Linked DNA regions of Homo sapiens: all the other regions are linked to region 3. The links are contacts of gene promoters, found by promoter capture Hi-C in blood cells and fetal thymus (Javierre and others, 2016). All regions are on one chromosome and are shown on one strand. Each heading gives the region's core, a stretch centred on a gene start or on the middle of the fragment in contact. The rest is flanking DNA. Distances are from core to core; before and after follow the strand shown.

What was found. The method cuts DNA at HindIII sites, captures the fragments that hold promoters and counts their contacts. A CHiCAGO score of 5 or more calls a contact.
Region 1: the fragment with the promoter of HOXC12 here is called in contact with the fragment with the promoter of HOXC-AS2 in region 3 in 2 of 17 cell types (naive B cells and total B cells); the score reaches 10.2 in naive B cells.
Region 2: a fragment that was not itself captured here is called in contact with the fragment with the promoter of HOXC-AS2 in region 3 in 3 of 17 cell types (total B cells, naive B cells and fetal thymus); the score reaches 7.7 in total B cells.

The regions. Positions count from the first base shown.
Region 1 is chr12:53,953,186-53,956,933 of GRCh38, forward strand. HOXC12 (homeobox C12) reads left to right here and starts at 1,718. Exons shown (of 2, transcript NM_173860.3): 1 at 1,718-2,354; 2 at 3,143-3,748. The coding sequence starts at 1,745. The coding sequence ends at 3,381. It overlaps LOC105369775 (a long non-coding RNA gene), which reads right to left and starts at 3,242. Exons shown (of 3, transcript XR_944977.2): 1 at 3,157-3,242; 2 at 2,706-2,782; 3 at 200-1,094. The HindIII fragment of the contact is 3,202 bases long and covers 812-3,748 here.
Region 2 is chr12:54,045,578-54,049,377 of GRCh38, forward strand. It overlaps a transcript of HOXC4 not described here. Among named protein-coding and RNA genes, the nearest start is that of HOXC4, 6.4 kb to the right of the region's middle. RefSeq lists an enhancer at 864-1,763. The HindIII fragment of the contact is 4,043 bases long and covers 1-3,425 here.
Region 3 is chr12:53,994,979-53,998,522 of GRCh38, forward strand. It overlaps HOXC-AS2 (HOXC cluster antisense RNA 2), which reads right to left and starts at 1,807. Exons shown (of 3, transcript NR_047505.1): 1 at 1,692-1,807; 2 at 855-931; 3 at 230-540. RefSeq lists an enhancer at 239-807. The HindIII fragment of the contact is 15,520 bases long and covers 1-3,544 here.

The DNA.
Region 1 (3,748 bases), core at 468-2,967, 42 kb before region 3:
AGCTTCGAACTGCTCCGGGCAGGGCGGCGCCCGCGGGGACACATTTCTGTCGGAGTGAGCAGCTACGGTTTGGGATATGAAATCGCCCGGGGAGCGGTGGAATTCAAAGAATCTGCGTTTCTCTCTGCCGCGTCCTGCAGAGGAGAGAGGGGAGGGAGAGGAAAAAAAGGGAGAATCTTCTCTGCTTCGATCTGCTTTTGCAGCTTTGGCTTATTCTCAGGCTTTCTCTGATATTTAACTTTCACCTAAATGGGTTTCTTTCTCATTCTCTCCGAATCTCTGTCTCCAATTTTCTTTCAATCTTCTGGTATTTTTTCGTATTTAGACGTTTACTGAACTATTTATCCAACCCTGTATTACTTAAGCCATGCATTGGTTAGAAGCTCGAAATAATCACATGGAAATTCGAGTGTTTTTTCTATTAGACCCCAAAAGGATACATCTGGTTTGGGGGAGTTTTATTTTGTCTTTCTTTTTAATCCGCTTGGCTGTGTTCTGTGGACCTAGTTGAGATCGGATTGTGGTTTTGCAGATGTTGATTATCTCACCAATGGCCAGCATTGCTTCTCGGCCTTCTCTGGAGGGAGCTTCTGAGTTTGCACCATAAATATAATTTCACCCCCCAATAAGATAATTCTTCAAGGGTTTTTTCCCTCAATCCTAGCCCCCTCAGGAGGCAACCTACTGCGGGCCTCTGCACTGCTATCTGATGGTCCCAGGGGCAGGCTTGGCCGGTTCTGGGGTGCAGTTGTCTCCTCCGCAGTGAGAATTAGGCCCCTCTCAGCCCAGTCAAGCCCTGTTAGGGGTCCAAAGCTTCCCACTGCAAAGACTCCAGGAGGCCCCCAGAAGCTCCTCAGTTCCCCGGAAATGACAGCAGAAGAGTAGTTCGCCCCCAGATTTTCAGGAGCAGGCAGGCAGGTCCATGTGGAGCTAGGCACCTCCTTTTGCTGCATTCTCTACCTCCCTTCCGCATCCTTCCTCTAGCCGTGAGTGGAGGTGTGAGGCTGGGTGGCTCCCGGCTCCAGAGGAAAACCCGGCATTATCAATTATCCTTGAGTATTGGGGAAGAGGACTCCAAATGTCTCTCCAAATTCCTGAGGATAAAGAGCTGATAAAGAAGTGTGCAGCAGCAGCTGGGGCGGGAAGAGATAACGGCAGGGAAACCTGTCCTTACCCCCACTTCGCCTCTACTGTAAATAAACCCCGAGCCAAAGGGCTCATCCGTCTCCTTAAACAGTCAGTAAACTTTATATGACACAATATCTAATAGTAATTTATTGAGGAGATATTGTAAATTCCAACGGTTTTAGTTAATAAAGAAGCTAATTAAAGAGGGACAGGCTGTGCTTGGCCAGCTGTTGGCGATAAGATAATATATGGGGGGGGGTGCAGGTTATAGGGGTGTATATATGCGGGCATTTTTTGGTGTGTGTTTTTTCCCTTTTGCCCCGTGTTGGGCAATTGCTTTACTCTCTGCGTTAGGTTATATACATTGTTTTAGAAAATCAGTTCAGCAAATAAACCTGCCCCCGCCCTTTGTTACCCCACTCACCCCCAGGATTGGGGAAGGGGGAAGTTAGAGTGCGGGATGGGATGGTGGGGGGGGGGGATCGGTTGTCCCCACCCCTCCCCCTGGCGGCCGTGCCCACGTGAGTGGGGCGGCCAATGGGTGACTGGTGCAGATTTAACTATGTTTAATGTCAGATAGCAATAAAGTAGAAGCTGCCGGTCGGGCCCCGCGGAAATGGGCGAGCATAATCTCCTGAATCCCGGGTTTGTGGGGCCGCTGGTAAACATCCACACGGGAGACACCTTCTACTTCCCCAACTTCCGCGCGTCCGGGGCGCAGCTTCCCGGGCTGCCTTCGCTGTCCTACCCACGCCGCGACAACGTGTGCTCCCTGTCCTGGCCGTCGGCGGAGCCGTGCAATGGCTACCCGCAGCCCTACCTCGGCAGCCCAGTGTCTCTCAACCCTCCCTTCGGCCGCACGTGCGAGCTGGCGCGCGTGGAGGACGGCAAGGGTTACTACCGCGAGCCGTGCGCCGAGGGTGGCGGCGGGGGCCTGAAGCGTGAGGAGCGCGGGCGCGACCCGGGAGCCGGGCCCGGGGCAGCGCTGCTCCCGCTGGAGCCGTCGGGGCCGCCTGCGCTCGGCTTCAAGTACGACTACGCGGCGGGCGGCGGCGGTGGCGACGGCGGCGGCGGCGCAGGACCTCCGCACGACCCGCCCTCCTGCCAGTCGCTGGAATCCGACTCCAGTTCGTCCCTGCTCAACGAGGGCAACAAGGGCGCCGGCGCAGGCGACCCCGGCAGCTTGGTATCGCCGTTGAACCCCGGCGGCGGGCTCTCGGCCAGCGGTAAGGACCCCGGCCACTCAAGCGGCGGATTCAAACCCGACCTCTTACCAGGGCGGGCAGAACAGGACTGAGCTAGGGACGCCCAGGGTGACAGAATGTGTGGCGAGGAAGAGCTTCTTATAAAATGAAGTGCGGGTGGGGGGAGCCTATAAACATGTAAACATCCCCACAAAAGAAATGGAGAGTGTTCCTTTTTCGTCTGCCTGCGGCTGGAGGCGGCAGGGATTCCGGAGTTGGGGGATCCTGACGGGGACTCCCCAGGCCTGGGGGTGAGGAGGTGGGGACAGAAAGCCCGGCCCTAGTTCTCCCAGGCGCCTCTCCCTCCACCTTCCCACAGACCCCATTACTTACATTTCGAAAGAAATGCCAGTGGATGCGTTTACTCTGCCATTCGCCCATATCTGTTGTAACTGATCCGGGATCCAGTCCTGAAGGATGTGAGAGGAAGGGACCAGGAAATAGGGAAGAAGAAAATTGGGGAGAGGTTTGGGAAAAAAGGAGGGGATAGGGACTTAGAAGGGTCATGAATAGTGCAGCAGGAGGTAGGGTTGAGGAGGTAAGAGCAAAGAATGAAAGGAAAAAAAAGAGTAAAGAAAGTGGGGGAGTTGGTGGGGATGTGGGTCTGGGTAGAAAAGACGATTCAGATGACTGGCGGCAAGGAGAAGGGAGAGAAAGGGCCTGGAGTCCAGCTGTGAGGCGAAGGTGAAAGGGTCTGGGGAAGGGCCAAGGGCACTGGACTGGTCACCCTTTGATCCTTTGGCCAACCCCTGCCATTCATCTCCACCCAGGCGCGCCCTGGTACCCGATCAACAGCCGCTCTCGGAAGAAGCGCAAGCCCTATTCGAAGTTGCAACTGGCAGAGCTGGAGGGCGAGTTTCTGGTCAACGAGTTCATCACACGCCAGCGCCGGAGGGAACTCTCAGACCGCTTGAATCTTAGTGACCAGCAGGTCAAGATCTGGTTTCAGAACCGGAGAATGAAAAAGAAAAGACTTCTGTTGAGGGAGCAAGCTCTCTCCTTCTTTTAAGGTGCAGGACACGGGCGCCAGCCCCAGACTGAGCCTGTCCCTGGCAGAGAGCAAAAGAGGGCGCCGCCTAGAACACAGTCCCCACTTAGAACGCCAGGCGTCTCTGGCAGGCCCTCCCTGGATATCCTCTTGTCTGTTTTGTTCGTGGTTCCCTCCCATACACACCCAAAACACCCTGCCAGGTCCCAGAGAGAAGGGAAGAAACCTAGCCAGGGAGAGCAGAAGCCGGCAGCTGCCTGCGGTTGGCAGGGGCAGGAAGGCTGAGGTGCTGCGGGCTGGTTTATTTGAGGCAGGACTGGGGCACTGCACCTCCGCTGAGGATCTGGAGAAGCAGCGGCCCAGATGTCCCCTTCCTCTACTTCCCTTC
Region 2 (3,800 bases), core at 154-2,653, 50 kb after region 3:
TTGCTGAAAAACTTACATGTTTGAACATATGTTTAGAGATGGTTTCATAATGCATGCATCTGTGTATAGGGGCATAGATCTCCCTTCTAGAAGGACTTAAACTTACTGCATCTCTCTGTCTCCCTCTCTATCTCTGTGTCTATGATATAAAAAGATATTAGGTGAGTGGGGGTAGGGAACAAATATATTTTGGATGTTTGGCTTATTAAAGCAAGTAATTCTGTCTCTATTTCTAAGGCCATCTCCAAAATCTAGTCCCACTAAGTTATCTGTCCCTCGAAAACCTACTCTAGGGGTCATAGACTGCCTCCAGGCTGCCTCTGTGACCTGAGATCCAAGCCGAAGCTCCCTACCTCTCAAGGTAGCCACTAAAAAGAAGGGGGAGAGAAGAAAGGGGAGAGTCCTCCAGCCCAGTTCCTGTTGGATCCCCAGGGCAAGAGGCTGACAGGGGCTTGTATATCTCCCTACACCCCCCACTGGGCCTTTGAAATGTGGGGGAAAAAGGGATCAAGTCCCCAACTGTTTTTATAGGGTGCCCAAATGATGCCAGGGTTACTGCACAACCCATAGGTTCCTCCTCCCCAGTTGTTCTCGGTGCCCAGGGCCCAATTAAGCGGCCGCCTTGCGCCCAGCAGCCCCGCTCTTATCGGCTGGGATTGATGCCTCCGCGTCTCCTGTATATCATTTCCAAGATTTTTTCTGTCCAACTCCTCGGCTCCTTTGGCTTCCGCGGCTTTGACTAATGATTGCTACAGATGCCAACGTCTCCAGAATCCTAATAGCCAGGCAGGCGGACTCTTATTTACCCGGCAACATTGCTGTGGGGGAGGGGGCCTGGGGGACAAGTATTGGGGTGTCGTAGGTCAGGGGACAGGGAGAAGGTTGTGGCCAACTCAAGTGTCACTGAACTTCTTCCCAGTCAGAAAGACATTCCCAATCCCCTTCTCTCCTTGAGGGAAATATATATATATATATACACAGTTAATGGTAACTCATTGCTGCCTCGTTAGAAAAGATCAAAGAATGAACACAACGTGGTAGAATAAGCAGAGCAATGTTTATTTGTTGTAAATAAATGAGAGAATAAGTGGAAAACCAGCAGTTTGGGGAGGAAAAAGAGAAAGGGAAAGAAGTCAGCCACAGTGGGAGAAGGGGCTCCTTTTCTTCATTTCTTGTCTTCCCCTTTCTCTCCCCACCCTAAGTCTACCCTTCTCATCAATTTCTCCCCTCTTTCCCTTCCTTCGCCTCACCTTCAATCCCTTGGGTGGAGGGGCTGAACAGCGTGTTCCCGGGCGGAGGTGCGCGCAGCCACCCCAGGCTGCTGCCAGGTGCCCGCTGGGGCTGCCAGGGCGAGGAGGCCTCTGGGCTGTGGAGCGAAAGTCAGATCCACCGCCTACTGCGGGGTAGGGGCCGCAGTGGGGACCGCCAGCCCTGTGGTCCCTCTCGCGCTGACTGGCGTAAAGTTGTGGCCGAATTCGCATCTCTTCTGGTGCTTCTCGCCCGCCAGCGCAGGGCCCAGGTGTTTGAGGCGAAGGGGCTCTAGCTCCCCGCAAGCCTGGAGCCAGGCGTCGCGCTTCCTCCGGGCTTAATCCAGACCTTTCAACACACACCTCATTCGGGGGAGGAGAAAAGCACAGGACCGCGGAGAGCCCAGCTTTGAGGCCAGGCCTGAAGGGATAACCCACACAGGGAACGTTTTCCTATCAGAGAATAATGGAGCACAAAATAATTCAGAAAGCGAATGGGCAGGACCACAGCCTGAGAGTCCCGCGCCGCGGGGCCGCTGCAGAGCCGGTCTCCCGAGCACCGCGGCAGGACCATTTCGTTGGAATGTAGGGCGAGGCCGAAGCCCGCCCCGGACCCAGGCCGCGAGGTGCGCGCCGGCCGCCGAGGGGCCGCCTGTAAATTACAGCCCGCCGGGAGGACTCGGAAATACACAAAAGGAGCCGAAAGATTTAAACAGTCGGAGGCAGAGGCGTCCCGAGGCGGCCAAAGCGGAAATCAATCACGTAATTAAAACAGGGAGGGGACGAAGCCCAAGGCTGGGGGTCCCGGGTTCGGAGGAGGCGGCCAAGGTGCAGGCCGAGGCTGGCGAGCGGCTTAGGGACGTGGCTCGCCCGCCAGGACCAGAGCGCGCGGAGGGGCTTCGGGGAAGTTTATAACACATCGCTATTGATTCCCGCTTGGCTAGGAAGAGCAGACTCTGGTGCCCTCTCCCAGGCCAGACCCTGAAGCCTCCGATGGCCCCTTCTCCGACTTTCCCGTTTTTGTGGGGTTGAGACGCGCAGTTGCAGTTGAAGGCCGCTCCCCAGATCCCACTGGTGCCACGATTTTGCCAAGGCAAGTTTGCGAACCCAAATGGCATCAAGATGCTGCCTTTGGGTTTGAGGGGATGGAGGGAGGTGACACCCCAGTTTCAGGCACTAAGAAATCTCTCTCGGCCTTGATTCCTCCAACCCAGGATTCAAAGCATGCCCGGAAAGACTCTGATCTATGGGCCGAGGCTTGGAAGGGGTGTGCGAGGCAGACGGGGTTATTAAAGGGAGAGCTTGGGGCTGAGCAAACTGGACCCCTTTGGGCTGGAAAGGAGAAAGAACAGCTCCTGGAAGAGAAAAAAAGGCACACCGGGAGCTGTGTTTTGTGAGGGGAAGATCTTATTATTGAGGTTAATCATGGTAATGATCTGGTATGGCTGGGTCAGCCCAGGAGACCGCGCTCTCCAAAGTTCTTTCTCACAGAGGTTTCTCTGGGGGAGTCAAGGGTTCCCCAACTTCACTATGGTTGGGGAAAATAAAATAAAGACCTCCAATCCTCTCCTCTGCCTTTTCCTCTCCCTCCCTTAAAAACTCCAGAAAAAGGGAAACCTTATAAAATCTCCATCACCCCACTTATTTTTCCTTGGCTCTCTCCAGTTTACTAAAATGCACGGTCTTTGGGAATTGAGTTTTTCTGGAGCACCCTTCTTGTGAAGCAACAGAGGTGACCCGACCAAGTCCTCATGAATTCTGATGCTGACCCTGGAGAGGACCCAGGATTCCCTTGCCTACTGTAGAATTCTCTCTCTATCCTTAGTTTTTCCCAGTCTCTGCCTTCTTTGGTCTTGGGTGCATAATCTCATGGGTCTCTGGCAGTTCAGAGGCCAAGAACAGATTAAGGCACTTTGAGATACCCTCATAAACTCTTAAAAGTGTTTCCAGCTTCCTGTCATCTCTTTAATACTGGGAGTACCAGGCCAGGGACCCCTCCATAAACTAACCTAAGGCCAGCCTGATTTCTAGATCTTTTCAAGCCACATTTAGGTTCCTTGAAAAATAAAAGTCCCCCTCCCCAGCAAGAAATTCAGGTCACCAACCTGCCGCACAGCAAGGTTCCTGCATCCACACATCAGAATTTTCAACAACAACAATTTTCATAATAAGAAGTAAAGCTTGCATCAAAGTTAGCAAGGGACACCCCAAACCAAATTTTAAAAAGGATATCATCCAGCAGTCTTGAAGAGGGGTGGGGGTCAATGAGGCTGGGATGAGGGAGGAAGGTGGTGGGGAACCCAACCTCTAACTAACAATTTCTCCAGCATAAAAATGAAACATCAGATTCGTTAGCCCAGGGCCTTCATTTTTCCCCTTCCACATTATAACTAGTTATTGAACTCGCTGGAAGATCTAAAGGCCATTTGCGAAGAGACAAATTTCAATGGAGTTTCCCCATCAATAACCCCATGGCAGTGAACTATTGGAACAAGTCAAACACCCGAGGTGAAATGCAGGTCACTCTGTCTAACCAATATTAAAATGCGGCCA
Region 3 (3,544 bases), core at 557-3,056:
TCTGGGTCTCTCTGCCTGAGGCCCTGGAGGGAGAGAAGGTAGGGAGATCGGCGCCCGCCGGGCCTGGCAAAGAGGCCTCGGGAAATGTTGAACCTGTATGTGATCTCAGGCTCACACTCATGTTGTGGGTCTGTCTGCCTCAGGAGATGCGGTTTGCCTTTCTGTCTGAGACGCCCCAAACCCTGAGCTCTCCTTCCCAAGGCTGGAAAAAAAATCGGGAAAAACGGCGGAATTTGCACTTTCATTCATTGGGTTATCTGCAACTGAGAGGGGCTGGTTAAGGCGTCCCCAAGTTGGAAGGGCGCTTTGCTTCTGTTTTCTGGATGCAGAGTCCTCTGACTCCCTCTGCCACGGGCTGAGTTTCCGGCTCCAGGTTCGCGTGTCGCCCTGAGGTTTGAGGCCAGACAGCTCGCAGTCGGGCAGGGAGGGCGGGGGAGAGACGAGCGGCTCTGGCCCCTTAATTGTACTTCGGGCTCGTATTGTCTCTCCTTTCGCCACCTCCGCTTCCTCAGTCTGGGCTCCAAAGTCACTGCAAATTTCCTTGCGACACATACATCACACAAAAGATCAGGTAACAAGGCGCTCAGGGCCACTGGGGCTCCGGGCAGGGCAGGGAGCGGCTCTAGCTCTGGGGCGGCTCCCCCTCCAGCCACTCCCAGGCTGGAAAACCAGACCGCGTTGGGGGAGCCGGAAATAGCCCCGCTTGCTGCGGAGCGTCAGGGCGGGGGCGCCGGCGGGAATGCAGGCCCGGCAGGCCGTGGCTTTGAGAGAGCCACGTTCACAGGCCCTGGGGATTTCACTCCTGCTGGGCCTCGGGACCTGACTCCTGGTGTGTAGGGATCCCAGATACCCACCTTGGGTGGGGGCAGGACGCGGGTTTCCTCGCGGCAGGCCAAGAGAACTCAGTTTCTGCTTCCAGCGCAGGCCTTAGCTAGGAGGAGTTGTGTGTGGGTGTGTTTTTCCCAACAAAGAGGGATCAGGAGAGAGAAGGGGGGAAAGTAGAGGGGAACCAGGGAGGGGGCGGGGAGGGGAAGAGGGCAGTGGAGAGGTGAAATGAGCCCATTTCAGGGGGAGAAGGAAAATGAAAGCAAATGGAGTACGGCCTTCTCCGCGCAGGGCGGGTGCTGACGAGCCGGGAGCGGGCTCCCTGCCTGCGGCAGCCGGGATGGCCCGCTGGGGACACCGGAGAAAGCCTGTTTTAAATTTAATCCGAACTTGACGGTGTGGATTGAACCGGAGGGAATTTAAATCACTAAAAGGAAGGCGCGGGGCAGGGGGAGGGGACGACTCTAACCTGTCTATCTTTCTGTCTGTCCTTCCCACGGTGCTAGTTTGGTTGTGGCCGCAGCTGCCCAGGTTTCAGGTGATGGAGTAAGGGTGCCCCTCCCCCTCAGGGGTCTCTCCTGTGCCCAGTGAAGTCTTTTGGGGGTGGGAGGGAACTCTAAGAACCAGAGTGAATGCACAGCTGCGAGCTAAAGCTGGGGTTTCCCCCTCCCCAACAAGAACTCCCAGTGGCCTCCAGTCCCTGGGTTTGCCCCAGCGGTGCTGAGGAAAATTGAAGGGAGTATGTGGGTGAGGGGAAGTCTGGAGTATGGCAGAAGATTCAGAAGGAGTAACTGAACCCCAGGAAGACAGACCTTCCTTCTTGGTGCCCCTATATCCTTTGTGCCCCGCCCCCCGCACCTACAAACCTGGATTTGAGGGAAATCTGCAGGTCCGCTTCAAAGCCCTGGTCTGCCACCCACACCCCTCCAAATGTGGAGAATGGGGGCTACAGGCCACATGCAGTTGTGGACCTGCGGAACCTCCGCCCAGTGGACTCCGGAACTCCCAGCCTCTTCTAGCCCCCCTCCCCAAGGCCGCCTCTCTCCGAAGGGCGCAGGGAAAATGAGGCATTGGCTGGGAAGGGGCTGTGGGCGAGGCCTGCTTCCTGATCCACAGCCGTGCCTGCCTCTGAGTGGGAAGAGTTCGGAGGTCATAGTCCCAGAAAATAAAATAAAATAAAGGAAAGCGACAATCTCCTTGGTTTCACAGGGGATTTCACGGCAGCAGGGATCCCGCCGGTGAGCCTCACTGCCCGCTGCTGCCGCCTCCGCAGAGTGGGCAGGCAGGGTGCGCAGGCAGCTCAAGAGTTGAAAAGAAGGCGGTGTTCAAAGGGGGTAGGAGAGAAGGGGGCATCTCTTTACGGCCCCAATGTCTATTTGAGGAACTCTCCCAAATAGCAGAGGCCCATAGGGGAGGCTCCTTAGGGACTCTTTCCTCCAGGAAAGCTGAGGCTGGGGCAGCTGGCCTTGTCGCTTGGAGAAGACGCAAAGGAAGAGCAGGGGTGAAACCTCTTTCCTCTTCTGTTTCTTCGCTCCTTGAATAGAGCAGGGCTCAGCCCCCAGCTGCCTAAGCGGCTGTCTGGACCAATATGGGGTTCTATATCCCTGAGGCCTAGAGTACCCATCCGAGCAAGTCTCCTGGGAGGGGCAGGAGAGGAGCCCTCTTCCGCCTTTGTGTCCAGACAGAAGTGGCCGCCGCGCCCGGAGCCGGTCCCGCGGCAAAGGCCCGGCAAGCCAGCGGGCTGCACAATGCCACGGCTGCTCCGCCAGCTCGCCCCTGCCCCGTCCTGCCTGCCTACGGCCGCCCTTCCTCCGCCTCCCTCTCTGCACGCCTGCCTTTCCCGGCTCTCCTATCTCTTTTCATCTTGCCTTCCTTCTTTTAATTCTCCCCCTTTTTTCCCTTTATTCTAATGCTCCGCTTCCTTCTTTCCTCTCTTGGGCCTGACTCCATGTTTCAGTTGGTCTGTCCCAGGCTGTCTCGGGTTCAGTCTCTCTCAGGCTCTGTCCCCTGATGTCCTCTTGGTCTCAGTCTGGCCCCGGGCCCCGCTGAGGGCTAAACGTCTCTGCTCATCGCTGCCAGCAGCCGCCCAAGTGCCGGGCCCGGTCCTCAGCCGCCCTGGGCTGGGGGAGGTGCTGGCTGTACTGGGGATTTGGAGAAAGCCTCGGCAGGGGGACTGGAACCTCCTGTCTTTTCCTTGAACTAGTGAGGGAGATTTTTTGATTGACAGCTAACCCAACTCCATCAAGGCCAAAGAGATATTCTGTTTCTTGTTGTAAGTTGGGCTTCCCAGCTCAGTCCAGCTCAAGGGAGGGGAAGACAGTGGCGCCAAGGAGCTGAACCCCCAAGTCGCCTCTCCCCAACCAAACACATCCCTCATCCTCCCCCATGAGTTGAAATCCCAGCCCCGTTAAGCCGCCCCCTTAGACCAAAAAGGAAAAGGAAAGAGCCAGAGAGGGGGAGGAGCAGAGACTTGGGAGGGGGCCTATGGAGCTGGGGTCGGTGCTGCCAGCTGCAGCTGTCTCCCCCTAACTTTCCTCCCCCCGGAACACACATACTATACACACTCTCCCCAGCCCCTCTCCACCCCAGAGGAGAAAGATCCATAGAGACGCAGGAGAAAACTAGCCCCCGCCCCTACCCCTGGCGTTTGGTCCCCTCCTGGGGACAGGAGAGGGAAAGAAGGGCAGGCGTGGCCGGGTCTGGGAAGACTCCTACCCTG